Linked DNA regions of Homo sapiens: region 1 is linked to region 2. The links are contacts of gene promoters, found by promoter capture Hi-C in human tissues and cell types (Jung and others, 2019). All regions are on one chromosome and are shown on one strand. Each heading gives the region's core, a stretch centred on a gene start or on the middle of the fragment in contact. The rest is flanking DNA. Distances are from core to core; before and after follow the strand shown.

Region 1 (4,377 bases), core at 602-3,101, 320 kb after region 2:
AAGGACATGATGTTGTTCTTTCTTATAGTGCATCATATTTCGTGGTGTTTACATACGACGTTTTCTTTATCCAGTCTACCATTGAAGACATACAGGATTATTTCTTGTTTTTGCTATTGTGAATCGTGCTGTAATAAACATATGCGTGCATGTGTCTTCATGGTAGAAAAACTTACATTCACTGGGTATATTCCCAATTGCGGGATTGGGAATGGTAATTCTGTTTTCAGGTTTTTGTCAAAATGCCAAACTGCTTTTCTCAATGGTTAAATAAATTTATACTCTCACCAGCAGCATATAAGCATTCAATTTCTCCACAACCTCACAAGCATCTGTTTTTGTTTTTGTTTTTACTTTTTATTCTAATTGTTTTTATTTGAATTATTTCTTTTTTTCCCATTAGTCTAGTGTTTTATCTATCTTATTATGTTTACATAGAATTAACTTCTGGTTCCTTTGAATTTTTTTTTTTTTAAGACAGAGTTTCACTCTTACACCCAGGCTGGAGTGCAGTGGTGCGGTCTCAGCTCACTGCAACCTCTGCCTTCCAGTTTCAAGCAATTCTCCTGCCTCAGCCTTTGGAGTAGCTGGGATTACAGGCATGTGCCACCACAGCCAGCTAATTTTTGTGTTTTTAGTAGAGATTGGCTTTCACTATGTTGGCTAGGCTGGTCTCAAACCCCTGAACTCGTGATCTTCCCGCCCTGGCCTCCCAAAGTGCTGGGATTACAGGAGCAAGCCACAGCACATGCGTGGCCCATTGAACTTTTTATAGTTATTTATGTCTCAAACTTCTTCATTTCAGCTCTGATTTTGGTTATTTCTTGACTTTTGTGAGCTCTGAAGTTGGTTTGCTCTTACTTTTGAAATTCTTTTAATTGTAACATTAGATTTTTAAATTGAGATCTTTCTAACTTTTTGATGTGGATGTTTAGTGATATACATTTTGTCCTTAACACTGCCTTAGCTCTAACCCTGAGATTCTGGTATGTTGTATTTCGGTTGTAATTAGTTTCAAAAATTTTATTTCTGCCTTAATTTCATTATTTCCAAAATAGCCATTTGGAAGCTGATTATTCCATTTTTATGTAATTGCATCCTTTCACATGTTTTTTTGTATTGAATTATTCTATACATTTTCTTTTTAAAATTAATGAGAAAGATAAGAAGAAATAAAAATGCTGTGCTCTTAATCCAAATGCTAAAAATTATTCAGCACTTAGTACCAACTCCCAGGGTGCTATGAAAATTAAATCACAAAATGTGTTATTCCCAGCGCAGTGTTCTGTGACATGCTCCTGAGCACACAATACCTGCTTAATAAACATTTTATTAGTACATGTGTACAGGTTTCCCAGGTGCAGATTCACTCAGACATTACTGTCTTCTGTTGTCCCTGTAAACTTAAAAAAGCCAACAAAAATATAGCATTTCAGGGTGGAAATTGGTTGTTTTTATTTGTAGCAGTAGTATTAGTATTGTGACAAATGTGGTGTGTGTAAGGGACTCTGCTGTGCCTGCTTTCTCTTGCTAATGCTAATAATGTGTCTGCGAAAGCACAATCAGCATTTACAGGGGACTTGTAAAAGCCCATTCCTGGACCCTTTTGGATCCTGCAGAATCACGTTGCATAGAGCGGGGCCAAGATTACCAAGTGATTTATAAACTTGAGGGGTTCAAGATACTTTCAGGAGAGTTTAGTTCAACCTTTGCATCATAGGAAGGCTGCACTGCCTGCCCTGTTTCAGTTTGGTAGGAAGAGGTCAGTGCGGTTCATGCTCCCATTACTGTAAAGAAAATTGTTGGTTTCTGATAGGGGAGGGCAGGGACAAAGAAACTTATATTTTAATAGTTATGGAGAAGCTTGTTGTTCTCTCATTGCTCTTAAATCTTTTCAGTTATAAACAACAAAAATGGGTGAATGTTTTCTGCAAGTCTCGGTCTTTCTGCCGTGGGTGTGTGTGGTGGTAGCAGGTGAATAGGTTGTGCTTTAAAGGCATATTCTCAAGATGCAGGTTTGATATGTCCAGAGCATCTCATCTGAAAATACATTTCAGAGAAAGAGGAGGAAAAGAAACAAATCACTTTTTCTCAGGTGAGCATGTCTCAGATCAAGCGCAGTGTCCACTGCTGCCTTTTGGAATGCCTTGTGTTCAGATCTTGCAAATTTTTACTTCTCTACTTGTGCTGTTGATCCCTAATGAGTTTGTTTCAACTATTTTTTGTGATTTTTATGATAGTCAAGGGGTTCTGAAAAAAATATTTGTTTTCTATATGCCATAGCATTCTATACATTTCTCTTCATCTTGGATTCTTGTATATCATGCAGAATTCTTAGAACAAATTTATGACCTACGATATTTAAAATGTTCCCATTGTAGCTGTTGAACATTAGAAGGTGTGGATACTCAAGATTTCTATTGGGGAAATACCGTTGTCTTTGGAGATTAGTGAAAAGTGAAACATGTTCTATTGAGGTTTCATCTGTGTGCTCTATTAGTTCCATGCAGGACAGTGTTTAGAAAATGCTCATTTAAACAGGGTGGCATTTATTACACAGAAAGTTCTGAAAAAACTGTTAGGAGATACTTGCTTTCCAGGGTGCTAAGGAAAGACTACTTAAAATTACTGATAAAAATTACAGAACAGGGAAGTTATCTGCACCTTCAACTTTGCATAAAACTGATGTTTCTTTTTGATTAAATTTAGGCCAGACACAATGGCTTTGGCTTGTAATCCCAGCACATTGGGAGGCCGAGGCAGGTGGATCACGTGAGGTCAGGAGTTCAAGGCCAGCCTGACCAACATGGTGGAACAACATCTCTACTAAAAAAAAATACAAAAATTAGCCAGGCATGGTGCATGCACCTGTAATCCCAGCTACTTGGGAGGTTGAGGCAGGAGAATTGCTTGAACTCAGGAAGTTGAGGTTGCAGTGAGATTAGATGGTACCACTGCACTCCAGCCTGGGTGACACAGCGAGACTCTGTCTCAAAAAAAAAAAAAAAATATATATATATATAATAAAATTAAATGTAGATTATAATTTACTTTTCTGAGAGGAGAGAAATGCCACAGCAGTGATGTTGTGTTGTGTGTGCATCAGCACATAATAAAAATGTGTCCTAATAAAGTTGATAACAATTTTATTCACTTGGTTCAAGATCTCTATGACATTTTTTTCCACTCTAGAGTTAATTCTTATTCTCTTAATTGTTAAGGACACTTAGGAGATTTACTAGCTGAAGTGCATAAACCATCACATTTAATCTGGAAGCTGTCCTTTCCTTTTAGATGACTTTTGCTTATATTTGTCTTTTAAAAATGAAGGCTCTTATCTTTATTTACAGGTGAGAGAAACTGGGAAAAACCCAGACTCTGCCATTTACTGGATATTTGACAAAATATTCTTACTAGGCTAGAAACATTGGTGAGCTTGCTAAAAATTCAGAAATTCAGACTTCCTCGGAAATCTCCTGAAACAAAATCTCACAAGATCTTTAGTTTATTGCACATACTAAGACTTGAGAGGTATCTTCCAACTCATCATGACTGTTCTATCTGAGAAATATACACAACTTATTCTATATGATGTAAATATAGCACTCAAAAATAGACATGTCCGGCCAGGCGCAGTGGCTCATGCCTGCCATCCCAGCACTTTGGGAGGCTGAGGTGGGTGGATCACCTGAGGTGAGGAGTGCAAGACCTGCCAGGTCCACATGGAGAAACCCCATCTCTACTAAAAATACAAAAATTAGCCAGTCATGGTGGCTCATGCCTGTAGTCCCAGCTACCCAGGAGGCTGAGGCAGGAGAATCGATTGAACCCTGGAGGTGGAGGTTGCACTGAGCCAAGATCATACCACTGCACTCCAGCCTGGGCAACAGAGTGAGACTCGGTCTCAAAAAAAAAAAAAAGAAAAAAAAAAGAAAAACAGAAAAGAAAAAGACATGTCCATGTTGATGCCCTTAATTTTATAATGTATCATCCAGAAAAGTATCAAATCTACAGCAGTATTGTGGATCTTATGCTATCCTCTTTTCTCAGAGTTAGAGAATACTTCAGTGTTAAAAATTATCTTATTGAATAATTTTAGTCACTCTTGTAAGTGAGAACCACTTCTTTTTACTCTCTTTTTTAACTTGAGTCAAATAAAAATCTCTGCCTATGGCCGTGTGGTAAGTGCTTGTGTGTTCATGAGTGGTTTTGTTTGTTTGTTTTCCAGGGACTGTTGACATTCAGAGACATAGCTATAGAATTCTCTCTGGAGGAATGGCAATGCCTGGATTGTGCTCAGCGGAATTTATATAGAGATGTGATGTTAGAGAACTACAGAAACCTGGTCTCCCTGGGTGAGGATAACTTCAGTACATA
Region 2 (4,133 bases), core at 1,139-3,638:
CTGGGTGCAAGCAATTCTCCTGCCTCAGCCTCCTGAGTAGCTGGGATTACAGGCACTCACCACCACGCCCGGTTATTTTTTTTTGCATTTTTAGTAGAGATGGGGTTTCATCATGTTGGCCAGGTTGGTTTCCAACTCCTGACCTCAAGTGATTTGCTCGCCTCAGTCTCCCAAAGTGCTAGGATTACAGGCATGAGCCACCGCGTCCGGCCCCTGCTTTCTTCTTATGTGAAATATTTACAAATGGGAACTTTTTTTCCCATTTGACATTGAATGACACTTTTAAAGTGCCATCCAATGCTTTTAAAAAAAATAATTAATGTAAGTACTGTGTCTGAAACATACAAGAAAGGACAAATAGATAATAATATGAGTTAGAAAGAAAAGTTGACATTTGGGAATGTCACAAAAACTGAAAATTTAATATTTTATTGCAAGCCAGAGTTAGTCTGTGAGAACAGAATGGTTGACTTAAGACCCTGCTTAAGACACAGCTGAGGAAGGGCATGGTGGCTCATTCCTGTAATCCCAGCACTTTGGGAGGCCAAGATGGCCAGATCACCTGAGGTCAGGAATTTGAGACCAGCCTGGCCAAAATGGTGAAACCCCATCTCTATTAAAAATACAAAAATTAGCCATGTATGGTGGTGTAGGCCTGTAATCCCAGCTACCTGGGAGGCTGAGGCAGGAGAATCACTTGAACCCAGGAGGTGGAGGTTGTAGTGAGGCAAGATCACGCCACTGCATTCCAGCCTGGGCCACAGAGTGAGACTCCATCTCAAAAAAAAAAAAAAGAAAGAAAGAGTTGAAAAACGCAGGCTGGGTGTGATAGCCTATTCCTGTAATCCCAGCACTTTGAGAGACAAAGGTGGGCAGATCACTTGAGGCCAGGAGTTTGAGACCAGCCTGGCCAGCATGGCAACACTCTATCTCTACTAAAAATACAAAAATTAGCCAGGCATGGTGGCGGGTGCATGTAATCCCAGCTACTCAGGAGGCTGAGGCAGGCGAATCACTTGAACCCAGGAGGCGGAAGTTGCAGTGAGCTGAGATCACACCACTGAACTCCAGCTTGGGCAACATTGCGAGGCTCTATCTCAAAAAAAAAAAAAAAAAAAAAAAATCCAAGGGAAAACCAATTTCCTGTGGGGTGTAAAAATATTTAAACAGCAGCCAATTAGACTGAGGTGGATTGATTCTTCTCGGCTCTCACTTAAAAAAAAAAATCTATCTCAAATGTATCTCTTACAGCTGGGCACGGGGGGATCACGACTGTAATCCCAGCACTTTCGGAGGCCAAGGCAGGCGGATCACTTCAGGTCAGGATTTCAAGAGCACCCTGGCCAACATGGTGAAACCACGTCTCTACTAAAAAACAAAAGCCGGGCGTGGTGGTGGCAGTCTGTAATCCCAGCTACTCCGCAGCCTGAGGCGGGAGAATCGCCTGAACCCGGGAGGGCGGTTGCATTGAGCTGAGATCGTGCCATTGCACTCCAGCCTGGGCAACAGAGCGAGACTCCCTCTCAAAAAAAAAAAAATGCATTTCTTGGAAATTACTTTCTTGAAGAAAAATATTCAGGCCTAGTCAACCACAGACTGCCAATTAATCTCTGATGACATAACCAAGCCATTTTCACCTGGATCTTACAAACAAGGAAACTACCTAACTGTACCAAACCAATTATTTAATCGGGTTTGCTTCATCATGAAACTTATAACAAACTTTCCTTCAAGTCTCTCCCATGGATCACAACCCACAAACCATAGCTGGGCGCTCTAAGATTCTTGAATCACACTTTGATTCAATTCTCTGATATTTTTACAGCGACTCCCCATACATCTCTAAAAGAAAAAATGAGGAACTAGGGACCCCAGGGAACACAGCTCTTTCCACTCACGAATCCTGCACCCTAAGTCTGGATTCTTCCCTGATGACTTTCCCATCCCTGCACAGTCTGGGTGAGATGAGGCGCTGGGAGTGTAGAGCTGCCCAGAGAGGGCTCCAGTCCAGGGCAAAGCCACTGCAGAGGAAAAAGACAGAACTCCCAGGGTCCCAGCCGCTGGCCCAGGCAGCATCTTAACGCTCGAGGGGACTAAGAGCCGAGCTGGGACAAGGAGGATTTGGGTCCTCAGACTCCGGAGCTGACTGCGAGGAAGTTTGGGTCCTGCTACAGCCACTTTCAGTCAGTTCCAACCAGCCCCCACCCCTCTCTCACGGTGACAGACCCAGCACTCACCATTTCTCGGCTTCCAGGGGGTCCCGGTCTTTTAGCCATAAATCTGCGAATACTTGCAGGACACAAGGCCACAGAGGCTTGGCCTCCAGGAGCAGAGGACGCAGAGCAGTGAAGAGAAGGACTGGAGCTCTGGGCGCAGAGAAGCAAAAAGAACCCGTAACCTTACGGAAGCGTCCTGTTCTCTCCCGCTGCATTCCTGATTGGACAGTTTCTATTTCACGGCCCCTGATTGGATAAGGTTTGAGGCCCCACCCTTCATGCCCTGAGTGACGGAAAATTTGATCAGACACTGGGCTGAATAAAGCAAAAGTAACAGGTTAGGCTGCAGCCTTTACAGCCAAGGCTTCTTCCCTGATCTGAGCCAGGCCAACCCCAGAGGATACTTGCATTTAACCTTGTGTATAATGTCATATGCATTTATAAATGATATATAATATAGTTATTCATAAATTGAAAAAATATAAAGAATTATTTTACAATTTCAGATTTTATGACCTTCCTTGCTGCGGATCCTTTGCAGTGATATGGTTTGGCTCTGTAGCTCCACCCAAATCTCATCTCAAATTTTAATTCCTGGCCGGGCGCGGTGGCTCACGACTGTAATCCCAGCACTTAGGGAGGCCGAGCGGGGAAGGCGAAGGCGGGAGAGGGGAGGGCGGGGGGCGGGGAGGGATCACTTGAAGTCAGGAGTTCGAGACCAGCCTGGCCAACATGGTGAAACCCCGTCTCTACTAAAAATACAAAAATTAGCCAGGGTGGTGGCGGGCGCCTATAGGGTCAGCTACTCGGGAAGCTAAGGCAGAAAAATCACTTGAACCCAGGAGGCGGAGGTTGCAGTGAGCCGAGATCGCGCCATTGCACTCCAGCCTGGGCGACAGCAGGGAGATTCTGTCTCAAAAAAAAAAAAAAAAAAAAATTGTAATTCCCACATGTCAGGGCAGGCACCGGGTGGGAGGTGACTGGATCTTAGAGAGGGATTATCCTCATGCTATTCTTGTGATAGTAAGGGAGCTCTCAAGATATCCGATGGATTAAAACTGTGGCACATCCCCCTACCCTCCCCATCCCCAGTTCTCTCTCTTTTTCTACCCAGTAAGATGTGCCTTGCTTTCCCTTCACCTTCCGTCATGGTCATGATTGTAATTTTCCTGAGGATTCCTCAGCCATGTAGAACTATGACTTAATTAAACCACTTTTTAAAAACATTACGTGGTCTGAGGTATTTGTTTATAGCAGTGTGAAAATGACCTAATCCATGAAGGCAGCCTGAGATTTCACGAAGGAGGCAGTCCTCTGCAGTAAAATGTGAACCACAAGTAAATTTTGAATTTTCTATTAGGCAAATATTAAAAAGTAAAAAGAAAAAGGTGGGGCCGGGCACAGTGGCTCACACATGTAATTCCAGCATTTTGAGAGGCTGAGGCAGCAGAAAACCTGAGGTCAGGAGTTCGAGACCAGCCTGTCTAACATGGCGAAATCCTGTCTCTACTAAAAGTACAAAAATTAGCCAGGCATGGTGACAGGCACTTGTAATCTCAGCTACTCTGGAGGCTGATGCAGGAGAATCGCTTGAACCTGGGAGGCAGAGGTTGCAGTGGGCCAAGATTGCACCACTGCACTCCAGCCTGGTGACAGAGTGACTCTGTCTCCAAATAAAAAAGAAAGAAACAGATGGAATAATGGTAGAATTGATTGTAACAATTTAATCAGCCCAATATATCAAAAATATTACTATTTTAATATGTGATTAGTATGTAATGGTTAATAAAGCGTATACATTTTTGAAGCTAAATCTTTCAATGTAACCTTGTATTTTACCTTTCCAGCACATTGCAGTTCAGACCAACCACATTCCAGCACCCTGTGGCCATGTCAGAGGTGTTTGAACCAGAGCAA

The links. The method cuts DNA at HindIII sites, captures the fragments that hold promoters and counts their contacts. A contact is called where the count stands out against the background at its distance.
Region 1: a fragment that was not itself captured here is called in contact with the fragment with the promoter of ZNF716 in region 2 in 11 of the 25 tissues and cell types used here (H1 embryonic stem cells, IMR-90 fibroblasts, aorta and 8 more).

The regions. Positions count from the first base shown.
Region 1 is chr7:57,126,570-57,130,946 of GRCh38, reverse strand. ZNF479 (zinc finger protein 479) reads left to right here. Exons shown (of 4, transcript NM_001370129.2): 2 at 4,229-4,355. Among named protein-coding and RNA genes, the nearest start is that of ZNF479, 3.7 kb to the left of the region's middle. The HindIII fragment of the contact is 5,941 bases long and covers 1-4,377 here.
Region 2 is chr7:57,448,432-57,452,564 of GRCh38, reverse strand. ZNF716 (zinc finger protein 716) reads right to left here and starts at 2,388. Exons shown (of 4, transcript NM_001159279.1): 1 at 2,238-2,388. The coding sequence starts at 2,276. The HindIII fragment of the contact is 19,624 bases long and covers 1-4,133 here.